3 separate regions of the Homo sapiens genome follow, and regions 1 and 3 are each linked to region 2. The links are contacts of gene promoters, found by promoter capture Hi-C in blood cells and fetal thymus (Javierre and others, 2016). All regions are on one chromosome and are shown on one strand. The core of a region is centred on a gene start or on the middle of the fragment in contact, and the rest is flanking DNA. Distances in the headings are between cores, read along the strand shown. Region 1 overlaps LINC02352 (long intergenic non-protein coding RNA 2352). Region 2 holds the start of KLF13 (KLF transcription factor 13). Region 3 has its middle 96 kb from the start of KLF13.

Region 1 (4,722 bases), core at 1,916-4,415, 100 kb before region 2:
TGTAATCCCAGCTACTTGGGAGGCCGAGGCAGGAGGATTGCTTGAACTGGGAGGCAGAGGTTGCAGTGAGCCAAGATTGTGCCACTGCATTGCAGCCTGGGTGTCAGAGTGAGACTCTGTCTCAATAAATAAATTTAAAAAATTAAATACATATGAATACATAAAAATTAAATGCATAAATACATAAAAATAAAAAAATACAACAACAAAAAAGAAAATCCAGCTATTAAGCCAGACATTGGGGAGTTTTTTTGTTTTGTTTGTTTTGTTTTGAGACAGAGTTTCACTCTTGTTGCCCGGGCTGCAATGCAGTGGCACCATCTCAACTCACTGCAACCTCTGCCTCCCGGGTTCAAGCGGTTCTCCTGTCTCAGCCTCCTGAGTAGCTGGGATTACAGCCACGCACCACCACACCTGGCTAATTTTTTGTATTTTTGGTAAAGATGGGGTTTCACCATGTTGGTCAGGCTGGTCTCAAACTCCCGACCTCAGGTGACTCGCCCGCCTCGGCCTCCCAAAGTGCTGGGATTACAGGCGTGAGCCACCACACCCAGCATGTATAAGTGTTATTTATGTTAACATGCCATTATTATTTTAAGATAAATGAATATTTATTTATTTTTCACTTGAACTTCTACTACCGTAAATATTGATAGATAAACTCATATGAATGAAAGCCCGCTGAGACCCTCAGCCATTTCTAAGAGAGGGTGAAGGGTTCCTGAATGCAGTGTGTTTGCGATCTGTCAGTCTCAACCAATCATTCTTGCTGTGCAGAGTAGTTCTTGCACACAACTAAACCACCACTGTCTGGCAACCCTGGCACCACTGGGCACCTGTGGTCATGGAGACAGGCCAGGACGTTGCAAAGGCAGAGTGCCTTCCTGGGCCTCTCATCTGGGCCGCTCTCCCTGTCAGTGTGGCTGACAGTGCCTGGCAGTCACCTGGGCGGGCCCCTGCTTCTCTCTTTGGGCCAGTGTTGGCTCTGGAGGCTCCCGGTGCATCTTTGTCTTCAGTCTGAATGCTGCACTCAGACTTTACCCTGGGGACAGGCAGGACACTGCCTCAGCCACCTGGGTAGCCGTTTGTGTGATTACCGTATCCAAGCTCCATGACTCATTCCTTCTCCACTGCCCCCACCCTACCCCATTTCCAGACTTGAAATGGTCTCCCACCTGCAGGCCATTGGCTCTATTGCGTTTCACCACGAATCTGATCTCCTCCGCTTTATATCTTCCAGAAATTCTCCAATGTTCTAGTCTGTTGGTGGCATTTTTCCTGGTTTTCAAGGATTTCTAAGTGTTTTTATATTTATCCTACTACATCAGAGGGTGGGGGAGATAGGTAGGAGAGGTGCAGTTGAGCCTTGAACAATGTGAGGGTTGGAGAGCCAACCCCTCACGCAGTCAGAGCTTGTATAACTTCAGGCTCCCTCCAAACTTAACTAATAAATAGCCTACTGTTAACTGGAAGCCTTACTGGTAACATTAAAAAATCAGTTAACACGTACTTTGTATGTGTATTTATACTGTATTCTTACAATAAACTAAGCTTGGGAAAATAAAATGTCATTAAGAATATCATAAGAGAAAGCATTTACTAAGTGGAAGTGGATTATCATAGAAGTCTTCATCCTCGTTGTCTTCATGTTGAGTGGCTGAGGAGGAGGGGCTGGTCTTGCTGCCTCAGGGTGGCAGAGAGGAAGACATGGAGGAAGTGGGAAGGGAGGCAGGAGAGGCAGGGACACTTGGTATAACTCTGATTGAAAAACATCCCTGTGGGTGGACCTGCACAGTTTGAACCTGCGTTGTTCAAGGGTCCACTGTGCTTGAAAGTGTTTAGTCAGCAGTCCTGAACGACATGTAAACAATGGTTGAATGAAGGAGCAAGGGAGCCTAAGGGTGGGGAGAGGCGGGTGTCGGCAAGGACCTTCCTCCAAGACAGGGTTGCTGCGAGGGGCAAATGGTGACTGATGATTCACAAGAAGGCGTACCTGTGTGACAGCACCTGTAAGCCAGGTGGGATCAGTGCGGCCTGTCGTCTGCTGTTGTCATGTGGAGCTCAGCAAACGGTGGGAGTCCTAGGGGACAACATACACAGCTTAGCAGCAGGTGCCCCTCTCTTCGAGCCTAATTTAGCCAATGGGAGTTTAATTTAGCCACGGGGGCGTAATTGCTAGAAGAAAAGAGAAGAAAAAAAACCTGATGCCCTCACCGCCTTCCAATCCTGACTCTTTAGGAAAAGCCTGGATCTCCGACATCTCCAGAGCGCCTGACCAAGCGTGAGAAGGCGGGATGTAGCCGGGGTGTGTGTGTCGGGGGGTGGCAGGATGCTCCCCAGAGGCGGAGAGCGGCGCGTGGGGGGTGCTGCAGGCGTCCTGGGAGTTTGGGGGCGCCGCCCTTCCTCCTGCCTTGGGCCCAACCGGTGGATCCTGTCGAGTCTGTTGTGGTCCCCTTCTTAGGAAAAGCACAGAGAGCCCTTTAAAGATGTTGACCTGACAGCAGCAGGGGGCCCAGGGTGACCACGGAGCAAATCAGGGAAAGGAAACTTAGGTCGCCACACATTTGATTTAAAAGAAAATAACTTCCCTCCTGAAGCAGGGGCTGGGGTAGGTGCCCTGGCACAGGCACAGAACCAGAGAGAACCCTTGCCGCTGCTCCGGAATGTCGGGCCACACCCTCCGGATACGGGAAAGGCTTTCTTCTCCATTTCAAATGACCCTGTTTCGCCTTTTTTAGATACAAATGTTTATTTGGTCTGACTTTGAAATACCTCGGAGCAGCTGAAATAATTGAAGGCAGCCCTGTAAGAAGCAGCACTTCCAGACCTTCTCACGGGCAAACCCTCTGCTGGGACCGCCAAGGGCCCCCGCGAGACACCTGAGGGTCAGCACAGCCCCTCCCTCCCTGTGCCGTGCTGGCCGTGCCGCAGCTGGTCACCCGCACGAGGACCTCGAGATTGCCCTGCGGACTGGCACTTCTCGAGGGAAGTCATCGCAGCTGCCATGGAGCCAGCATTTGTCGGGGACCTGGCACGCAGGCCACCGGCTCTGGGAGAGGGCTGAGGAGCCGTGGGGCTCACGTTTCAGGGATTAGCTTGTGTAACTTGACTTGTTCCCCCAAATTCTACAAGTACAGAGAATATGCAGAAATCTGTGAGAGAAACAACCTTCTGCAGCTCGTTGTTGTGGGGATTATATTAGTAAGATGCCTAGAAAATACGATTCAGAAGGAATGTGGGTGCGTGTGACTTGGTGGTGGGTGGGCTCCACTCACCACCCTCCCTCCGCACCTGTCCGAGGCATTTGAACCAGAGCAACTCCATTTCGAATAGGGGCCGGTAAAATAAGGCTAAGACCTACTGGGCTGCATTCCCAGATGGTTAAGGCATTCTAAGTCACAGGATGAGATACGAGGTCGGCACAAGATACAGGTCATAAAGACCTTGCTGATGAAACAGGCTGCAGTAAATAAGCTGGCTAAAACCCAAAATGGCAACAAGATGTGTCCTCTGGTGGTCCTCACTGCTACACTCCCACCAGCACCATGACAGTTTACAAATGCCATGGCAACATCAGGAAGTTACCCTATATGGTCTGAAAAGAGGAAGCATGAATAATCCACCTCCTGTTTAGCATATCATCAAGAAATAACCATAAAAATGGGCAACCCACAGCCCTTGGGGCTGCTCTGTCTATGGAGTAGCCGTTCTTTTACCCCTTTACTTTCCTAATAAACTTACTTTCACTTTATTCTGTGGACTCGCCCTGAATTCTTTCTTGCCTAAAATCCAAGAACCATCTCTTGGGGTCTGGATCGGGACCACTTTCCTCTAACACACCCACTGAGAAGTGCTTGCTGATGTTAGGGTTCACAGTGTCAGGGGCTGCCGTAGTGTCACCCCATTCTACAGATGAGAAAACAGCCTCAGAGTTTTTTGTTGTTGTTGTTTGAGATGGAGTCTCACTCTTTCCCCCAGGCTGGAGTGCAGTGGCGTGATCTTGGTTCACTGTAACCTCCGCTTTCTGGTTTCAAGCGATTCTCCTGCCTCAGCCTCCCGGAGTAGCTGGGATTACAGGTGCCCGCCACGCCCGGCTAATTTTTGTATTTTTGGTAGAGACGGGGTTTTACCCTGTTGGCTAGGTGCCTCTCAAACTCCTGACCTCGTGATCCGTGGGCCTCTGCCTCCCAAACTGCTGGGATTACAGGCATGAGCATCAGAGTTTTTAAGTCAGAACTGGAGCCTGAGCCCGACAGGTGACACAACCCGGCCTTCCCTGAGGGGCTGGCACGCCGCAAAAGGTCGCCAAGCTCTCCCTCTTCCGGTGTGAGGTGCAGCTCGCCGGTGGGTATGCACAGGGAGTCCTCTATTTTGCTCGGTTTTGCCTGGGACCATGTGCTCTGTGTACTGCATCATGGTCTCCACAGTGGATCTCGGTAGGCACAGCTGGACTTGGTCCTCAGTTGCCTGCTGTGCCCTGCTGGGGATCTTTTTGCACGGGCCATTCCCCCTCGCACTTGCCTTCCCTCCCCCGCTCCTGGCTGGCTCCCACTCTTGGCCGGGGCTCAGGCAGGATTCTCTACTAGACTCAGCAAAGCACCTGCAGTGGGCCTGTAATAGGAGGGAGTGGTGGGTCCGGAGTTGGTTCCTTCCAGTGGGATTGTGGTCTTGCTGATTTTGAGAATGGAGCCCCAGACCTTCCTGGTGTTACAGCTCTCAAAG
Region 2 (4,536 bases), core at 1,850-4,349:
AGAACTTCTGTGCACATGAGTGGCAGTGTTAACTGTGGCCTTCCCTATAGGGTGAGCTGGCTGTTTAATTGGGCAGCCACAAATGTTAGAATGTCTGGGTGTTTCCCCTTGGCATGGTTGGCTACCCCAGGAAAGACCCTTCTAGTCTCCTGGCTGCTTGCATTCTGAAATCCCAAAAAGGGGTTTGTGGGTCTCAGCATCCAGTATCCATGTGTGTATTTAATCCCCTGATCCTATTACCGTACCTCTGTCCTTAATTGTGCCTGGTGTCCACCTACCCAAGACGCTGCCTTTTAGTTTTTTCAGGTCATAAATATCCAGCCTTTCGTCAGAACAAGGAAGGGGCAGTTGTCAGGCTGCATGAAATTGGGGTGCAGATATGGGCATCTGAGTGCTCCTCAAGCTGACGTTCTGCCAATCTTATTTTCACCCCCGTTTACTCTCACATTCAGAGGTACGTAGTGCCACCCATTAGTGAACCTTCTGGGGGATTCCATGGAGTATGTTCTTAGCTTTCCTTCCTAGCTACTATCTCAGGGTTTCATTTTCTTGGATCTGCTAAGTATTTTAGCTTCAAGAACTGCGTTGCTGTTACTTCCTCTCTTGTTCTCCCTGTCTTTGTGGATTTCTGCCTTCTAACAAATGCTCCAGAAGGAAGTTAAAGTCAATACATACTAACCATCCACCAACTTTACCCAGAAACTCAACCACCCTTTCAGCCTTCAGTCTCTATACGCCCCAGACACACCTGCTCTGCTTTTCTGTTGCTTCCATTTGAAACGAGACGACCCAGCCCTCACATATACATATGCCATCTCTGTCAAAATCTTACTTAGAAAAGAAAACATGGACTCTTAGCTAAGAGGAGATTTTCTTTGGGGAAGAGCTGTCTGTCCGGAAGACCCTTCCATGTAGGTTTGGGATAAAGTCAGTGAACACCACGACAATCATCAAATGAGTGGATTTTTGAGAAACCAGCCAAGGAGCTCAGTTTTCTATACAGAATGCCACAGAGCACAGTCAAAATTCTTTGGGACCCACATTCTTGGAAAACTCTTAGGGGGGTGCATCAATGCAGAGGACCCTTGACCACGTAGGGCATCCCCTCACCCAAGGCAGGCCTGTTTTGTTCATGGCTGTAGTAGCCTAATACTAGAATAGTGCAGACTCTAGACGGCCTACCATTGTGTATGCCGGCTGGGGTGACCCAGTGGGGAGACGTGGCACCTTGAAGATTGGGGAGAATTCTGCTGGCTGGAAAGGGGCCAGGAGGGTATGGGTGGCTGATAAGCTGGTGTAGGACCACTCCTTCCTTAAGAAGTGACTAATTGTGACATGTGGTGGGAATAGAGGAACATTCCGAATCATTACTTGGTCAGGACACACGTCTCTTATTAAATGTCATCAACACAATCTGCCTGGAAGAAACACGATTACTTTCTACCAAGCACAGACCCTCCTAAAGGGACCAGACCCAGTCCAGCACCTTTAGTCTCCCCAGAGGGTAGCAACTCAATCAGCGAGACCGCATTTCAGGGTTTTAGTTACAGATACTGAGGGTGCTCAAACATCCATGCAGTTTGCTGTTCACCGTAACACGCAACCCAGAATGGCCGTTTCGGTCCCTCGTCGGTTACCTGAAAACCAGTCTTACTGAGCTCCAACCCCAAATTAATTTGGTGAGAACTCGAACTCGGCTATTAACCTTAATTCTGAGAGAAGAATGACACCCCCCTCCCACTGCGAGGGTCCACTGAGGGTGAGTGCCCGGGCTCCTTCATTCTCCAGGCTCCTCTCAGAACACAGCAAGGGTGGCTGACTCCTTCGAACGTCCATTAAGCACAATGCAACGGGGCGAGGCAGTAGGGGGTTTGCTGAGCCCGGTTCCGCGGCGGTGGGAAGTTATTCACCGGCGTCTCCGAGGACGGCCCAGGCCTGGAGAATGGCTGGGGCCGCGGGCTGGGGTAGGGGTTACCGTGAGAGTCAAGGGCAAGGTGGCCCAGCCCGGGCTGGGAGGCGCGGGCTGGGCGCAGCCGAGCATTTCCTCCGGGAGGCCCAGACAGCGGGCGGGTGGGGCGCGGTGGGCGGGGTCCTCGCAGCTGGTGGCGTTTGAAGCCCCCCCGACCGCGGTGGGAGAGGGGCAGCCTAGAAGAGTTGGCAGCGGGCCTGCGGCGGGATGGGGAGGAAGGGGCCCCGCGTTCCCTCAGCAGCGGCGCCGGCCGCCCTGGCACGTAGTTCGCTTCTGGAGGCACAGGCCGCGGTGGGCGCGCCACCCGGGCTGCCAGGCTCACCGCCAGCCGAGGCCAGTCCTGCTCGGGCTGACCCGAGCTGAAGGGCAGCGCGGCCGCACCCCGGACCCCAGGAACGAGCCCGAGTCTGTCCCTCCCGCGGGAGCTGCCCCGCCCGGACTCCCGGAGCTCTGCAAGGCAGGGGCGTGGGGAGGGCGAGCGGCCTGAGGCTCTAGGCGCGGCCACCCGGCAAGCCGGCGGCGGAGGGCGCGGCGCGAGTGCGTTCCGCCCCTAGGCAGCCCCGCGCCCGGCCGGGCAGACACGCCTCCCCGCCGGCGCCCATCGCGGGAGGAACAAATGGCGCCCTCCAGAAACCGCTCCCCTCCATGCCGGGGGCCAAGGCTGTCACCACATAAAAGCTCCGGCAGAGAAGTGCTCGCTGTGTCCCCGCCGCGGGGGGTACAAGCAGCCGCTCCGCGCCGCGACTACCCGGCCCGCCGCCCCCGGACGTCATGCGTCAGCGCGCCCCGCTCCAGTTTCCGCCCCTCCTCCCACCGGCCCAGGGGACACGCCCACTGGCGCGCGCAGGGCCCGGGACCGGGCACGCCCCTCTAACGGCTCGGATTGGCCTGGCCGTGCACTCACGGACCAATGGCGTCTGTCCCGGCCCTCGGTCACGCCCCCTTGCCCAGGCGCGGGCACGCGACCGCTCCGTTCCGCCGGTGCGCGCTCTGGGGTCCCCGCCCCCTCCGCGCGCGCAGCTCCCCGCAGCCGCCGCCGCCTGTAACCTGCGCCGCCAGGATGTGGCTGGGGGCTGACGTCGGGTCCAGATGTGGCCCCGGCCCCGCCCACCCCCGGGGCCGGGCCGCCCACACGGAGCCGCGGCGCGCACGGCAGCTGTCCCGCCTGCCACAATGCGCGGCGAAGCTGCGGCCGCGACTTGGCGAGGTGGTCCCTAACGTTGCCGCTCGGCATCCTTAGAACCGGCCGCCCCTGACGCCGCGCGGGGACCCCAGTCGCCCGCGCGCCCCATGCGCTCACTCTTCGGTGCCCGGCCGGGCCGGCGCCTCGCAGACGCGGAGCCGCGCGGGTGACGGCACAGGCGGCTGCGCGCCCAGCCCAGCCCAGCCCAGCCCGAGGAGAGGGCGCGCCGCGCCCCCGCCCCCCGCCCGCTCTCCCGAGGCCGTGGGTGCGGATGCGCGGCTGACGACTCGCAGCAAGAGCACCGCCGCCGGCCCCAGCCCGCAGCATGGCAGCCGCCGCCTATGTGGACCACTTCGCCGCCGAGTGCCTCGTGTCCATGTCGAGCCGCGCGGTCGTGCACGGGCCGCGGGAGGGGCCGGAGTCCCGGCCCGAGGGCGCGGCCGTGGCCGCCACCCCCACGCTGCCCCGCGTCGAGGAGCGCCGCGACGGTAAGGACAGCGCCTCGCTCTTCGTGGTGGCGCGGATCCTAGCGGACCTCAACCAGCAAGCGCCGGCGCCCGCCCCGGCGGAGCGCAGGGAGGGCGCCGCGGCCCGGAAGGCGAGGACCCCCTGCCGCCTGCCGCCGCCCGCCCCCGAGCCCACCTCCCCCGGCGCCGAAGGCGCGGCGGCCGCGCCCCCCAGCCCGGCGTGGAGCGAGCCGGAGCCCGAGGCGGGGCTGGAGCCCGAGCGGGAGCCGGGGCCCGCGGGGAGCGGCGAGCCCGGCCTCAGACAAAGGGTCCGGCGGGGCCGAAGTCGCGCCGACCTCGAGTCCCCGCAGAGGAAGCACAAGTGCCACTACGCGGGCTGCGAGAAAGTTTACGGGAAATCTTCGCACCTCAAGGCGCACCTGAGAACTCACACAGGTCAGTGGGGCGGCGCGGGCGCCCGGATCGCGCGGACGGGGTCGGCGCGAGCTGCCCGACCACGCCCCCGGAGTCCCCGATGGGGCGCGAGGTGGGGGCCGGGCGGGCCGGAACGCCCGGGGCCTCGCCCCTTCCCCTGCCGCTCCGACCCGCGGCTGGCCCCGCGCGTCGCGCGAGGCGGGTCTTGGCTCTCGGAGCCGGCGCCCGCCAGGCGACCGCGCCCCCGCCGGGCACGCCCCCTCCCCGGGCGCGCTCGGGTGGGGCCGCGGGGGCGGATATAGTCATCTGGGCTGGGGGCGGGGACCCCTCCCGGCCGGGAGGCGGCGCGGGCAGGTGCGGGCGGCCTGGGTGTGGACCGCAGGCGGCACTCGTGACGGTGGGGCGCCCGGAGCGGGGGCAGGGGACGCTCTCCGGGGTCCCTCCTCGTTTCCTCCCCCGCTGCCCGGGCGCGCGCTCAGGAGGGGAGGGGCCGGCCCCGGCGC
Region 3 (4,498 bases), core at 371-2,870, 95 kb after region 2:
GCAGGAGCTGATGACCCTCATGATATCTGGTGACAAAGGGATTTCTGCTTTCCTTGAATCAGACAACCTTTTCAAATGGGTAGGGACCATCCATGGAGCAGCTGGCACAGTGTATGAAGACCTGAGGTATAAGCTCTTGCTAGAGTTCCCCAGTGGCTACCCTTACAATGAGCCCACAGTGAAGTTCCTCACATCCTGCTACCACCCCAACATAGACACCCAGGGTAACATATGCCTGGATATCTGGAAAGACAAGTCGTCTGTACTGTATGGCATCAGGACCATTCTGGTCTCCATCCAGAGCCTGCTAGGAGAACCCAACATTGATAGCCCTTTGAACATGCATGCTGTTGAGTTCTGGAAAAACCCTACAGCTTTTACCTTCAAGAAACCTATTCAAAGCAGGTTACCAGCCAGGACCCCTGACCCAGGCTGCCCAGACTGTCCTTTTTTTTTCTTTCTTTTTTTTTTTTTTTGAGATGGAGTCTTGCTCTGTTGCCCAGGCTGGAGTGCAGTGGTGAGATCTCAGCTCACTGCAACCTCCACCTCCCAGGTTCAAACGATTCTCGTGCCTCAGCCTCCCGAGTAGCTGGGATTACAAGCACCTGCCACCATGCCCGGCTAATTTTGATATTTTTAGTAGAGACAAGGTTTCACCATGTTGGTCAGGCTGGTCACAAACTCCTGACCTCAGGTGATCTGCCCGCCTTGGCCTCCCAAAGTGTTGGGATTACAGGCATGAGCCACCATGCCTGGCTTCCCTGCCTATCTTTGTGTTGCCTTTTTAAGTTTTCCTTTGATGGTCTGTCCTGTCTGTGATTTCTGTATAGGACTCTGTATCTTCAGCTGTGGTATTATTTTTGTTTTGTTTTTGTCTTTTAAATTAAGCCTCGGTTGAGCCATTGTGATGTATATTAAATAAATACATTTTGGTTATTAAAAAAAAATGAAGGTGAAATAAAGACCTTCCCAGAAAAATAAAAGCTGAAGGTGTTTATCCACACTAAATCTACCTTACAAAAAAATGCTAAAGGGAGTTCTTCAAGTTGAAACAAAAGGACACTTGACAGCAACACAACGGCGTAAAAAATATAAAGCACTCAGTAAAGGGAGGTATATGGAAAAGTACAGAATTGTATAATATTCTAATGGTGGTACATAAATCACATTTAATCCTGGTATAAAATTTGAAAAAGTATAAATAGAACTATAATTATCAAACTTTGTTAATGAACATAAAATATAAAAATATGCAATTTGTGAAATAAATAACATAAAGTAGGGGAGATGTAAAATTTTTTATGTAATTGATATTAAGTTTTTGTCAGCTTAAAATAAATGGCTATAATGATAAGGTATTATACTTAATCCCCATGGTAATCACAAAGGAAATATCTGTAGAAGATATACAGAAGAAAATGAGAAAGGAATCAAACTTGTCACTAAAAAAAAATTAACAAAACCTAATGAAAGGCAGCAAGAAAGGAAAAGGGACAAAATAACTGCAAAGTATACAAAAAACAATCAACAAAATGGCAAAGTATGTCCTTTCCTGTCAGTAATTTTTATATGTGTAAATAAAAAGAAATAGAGGGCTGGCCGAGCGCGGTGGCTCACACATGTATTGCCAGCATTTTGGGAGGCCAGGACGGGCAGATCACCTGAGGTCAGGAGTTCGAGACCAGCCTGGCCAACATGATGAAACCCCATCTCTACCAAAAATATAAAAAATTAGCAGGGCATGGTGGCGTGCACCTGTAATCCCAGCTACTCAGGAGGCTGAGGCAGGAGAATAGCTTGAACCTGGGAGGCGGAGGTTGCAGTGAGCTGAGACCATGCCACTGCACTCCAATCTGGGTGACAGAGCAAGACTCCATCTCAAAAACAAACAAACAAACAAAAAAAAAAAAAAAAGAAAAAAGAAATAGAGTGGTTCAATAGATTTTTCAGAACCTCAAGACCCACTCACCTTAGATACAAAGATACATATAGGCTGTGTATTAGTCCATTCTCACAGTGTTATGAAGAAATACCCAAGACTGGGTAATTTATAAAGGAAAGAGGTTTAATTGACTCATAGTTCTTCATAGCTGGAGAGACCTCGGGAAACTTACAATCACGGTGAAAGGCAAAGGAGAAGCAGGCACCTTCTTTTCAGGGTAGCAGGACAGAGTGAATGCAAGCAGGGGAAACGGTAGATGCTTATAAAACCATCAGATCTCCTAAGACTCACTCATTACCATGAGAATATGGGGGAAACCATCCCCATGATCAAATTACCTCCACCTACCCTGCCCTTGACATGTGGGGATTATTACAATTCAAGGTGAGATCTGGATGGGGACACAGAGCCAAACCATATCAGGCTGCAAGTGAAAGAATGGAAAAAGGTATTACATGCAAATTGCAACCAAAAGAGAGCAGTGCTGGCCAATTTATATCAGACAAAATAGACTCTAAGACAAAAACTGTCACAAGAGACAAAAATGAACATATAACAATAAAAGAATCAATTTTCAGCTGGGCGCAGTGGCTCAGGCCTATAATCTCAGCATTTTGGGAGGCTGAGGTGGGCTGATCACCTGTGGACAGGAGTTTGAGACCAGCCTGGCCAACATGGCAAAACCCTGTCTCTACAAAAATACAAAAAAAATTAGCTGGGCTTGGTGGTGGACACCTGTAGTCCCAGCTACTCAGGGGGCTGAGGCAGGAGAATCACTTGAACCTGGGAGACAGAGGTTGCAGTGAGCTGAGATCACGCCACTGCACTCCAGCCTGGGTGAGAGTGAGACTCCTTCTCAAATAAAAAAAAGCAAGAATCAATTTTCCAGTCATATAACAATTACATATATATACGTATATATACGTATACGTATACGTATATATACGTATATATACGTATACGTATACGTATATATACGTATATATATGTATATATATACATATATACGTATATATATATATCAGTAGCTCACTCAAATATATGAAGCAAATGTTGAAAGAATTGAAGGGACAAATAGGCAGTAACACAGTAATAGAAGGAGATTTTAATACCTTGCTTTCAATAATGCATAGAATAACCAGACAGAAGATTAATAAAGAAACAGATAACTTGGGCCGGGTGCTGTGGCTCACGTCTGTAATCCCAGCGCTTTGGGAGGCTGAGGTGGGTGGATCACGTGAGGTCAGGAGTTCGAGACCAGGCTGGCCAATATGGTGAAACCCCGTCTCTACTAAAAATACAAAAATTAGCCGGGTGTGGTGGTGGGTGCCTGTAATCCCAGCTACTCAGGAGGCTGAGGCAGGAGAATGGCTTGAACCCAGGAAGCGGAGGTTGCAGTGAGCCAAGATTGTGCCATTGCACTCCAGCCTGGGTGACAAGAGTGAGATTCCATCTCAAAAAAAAGGAACTTGAACAACATTATAGACCAGTTGGACCTACAGACATATACAGAATACTCTAAGAACTACAGAATAAATGTTCTCTCAAACTCACATGGAACATTCTTCAGGATAGATCACATGTTAGGCCACAAAACAAATCTTAAATTTAAGAAAATTGAAATCATACCAACTGTCTTTTCTGATTTTGTTGGAATAAAACTAGAAATCAATAGCAAAAGGAAAACGGGTAGATCACAAATATGGGGAAATTAAACAATACACTCTTGAACAACTAATAGATCAATGAAGAAATCACGAGAGAAATTGGGAAGTGTTTTGAGACAAATGCCAACAAATTTGATAGCCTAGAAGAAATAGAGAAATCTCTAGAAACATACAACCTACCAATATTGAATCGTGAAGAAATAAAAAATCTGAACAGATTTAAAGCTAGTAGAGAGATTAAATCACTAACCAAAAACTTTCCCACCTAGAAAAGCCCAGGACCAGGTGGCTTCACTGGAGAATTCTACCAAACACTTAAAAAAGAATTAATATAAATTATTTGCAAACTTTTTAAAAAATTGAAGAAAAAGGAATTTGATGAGACCAACATTACTCTGATTCCAAAATTAGACAAAGATACTACAGGTAAAGAAAACTACAAACTTCCCTGATTAATATTGATGCAAAAATCCTCAACAAAATACTAGCAAACCAAATTCGATGACACATTAAAAGGTTTATACACCATGACCAAGTGGGATTTATTCCTGGAATACAAGGATGGTTTAACATATGAAAATCAACAATGTAATATCACATTAAAAGAATGGAGGACACTATGTTCCAACTGTTCTATATATATGTAAGTAAAAAAAGAAAAAAGAATGAAGGACAAAAACCACATGATCATTTCAATTGATGCAGAAAAAGCCTTAGAAAAAAATTCTACACCCTTTCATGATAAAAACACCTGACAAACTATCAATAGAAAGATATTATCTGACCATATTAAAGTGTATACAAAAAGCCCACAGCCAACATCAAACTCAGTGGTGAAAAACTGAAAGCTTTATCTCTAAGGTTAGGGACAAGGCAAAGATGCCCATTC

Evidence for each region. Contacts are between HindIII fragments. The CHiCAGO score rates a contact against its expected background, and 5 or more counts as called.
Region 1: a contact is called between a fragment that was not itself captured here and the fragment with the promoter of KLF13 in region 2, in 16 of 17 cell types (non-activated CD4 T cells, total B cells, neutrophils and 13 more). The highest score is 16.8, in non-activated CD4 T cells.
Region 3: a fragment that was not itself captured here is called in contact with the fragment with the promoter of KLF13 in region 2 in 1 of 17 cell types (total B cells); the score reaches 5.2 in total B cells.

What each region holds. Positions count from the first base shown.
Region 1 is chr15:31,221,257-31,225,978 of GRCh38, forward strand. LINC02352 (long intergenic non-protein coding RNA 2352) reads left to right here. Exons shown (of 2, transcript NR_135834.1): 2 at 2,739-3,751. It overlaps LINC03034 (long intergenic non-protein coding RNA 3034), which reads right to left. Exons shown (of 4, transcript NR_171016.1): 3 at 2,215-2,456; 4 at 1,511-2,080. Among named protein-coding and RNA genes, the nearest start is that of LINC03034, 7.2 kb to the right of the region's middle. RefSeq lists an enhancer at 4,478-4,722. The HindIII fragment of the contact is 3,232 bases long and covers 1,550-4,722 here.
Region 2 is chr15:31,323,736-31,328,271 of GRCh38, forward strand. KLF13 (KLF transcription factor 13) reads left to right here and starts at 3,100. Exons shown (of 2, transcript NM_015995.4): 1 at 3,100-4,054. The coding sequence starts at 3,478. RefSeq lists a promoter at 2,225-3,281 and an enhancer at 2,309-2,822. The HindIII fragment of the contact is 12,301 bases long and covers 1-4,536 here.
Region 3 is chr15:31,420,235-31,424,732 of GRCh38, forward strand. It overlaps a transcript of KLF13 not described here and the pseudogene UBE2CP4. Among named protein-coding and RNA genes, the nearest start is that of KLF13, 96 kb to the left of the region's middle. The HindIII fragment of the contact is 5,670 bases long and covers 1-4,455 here.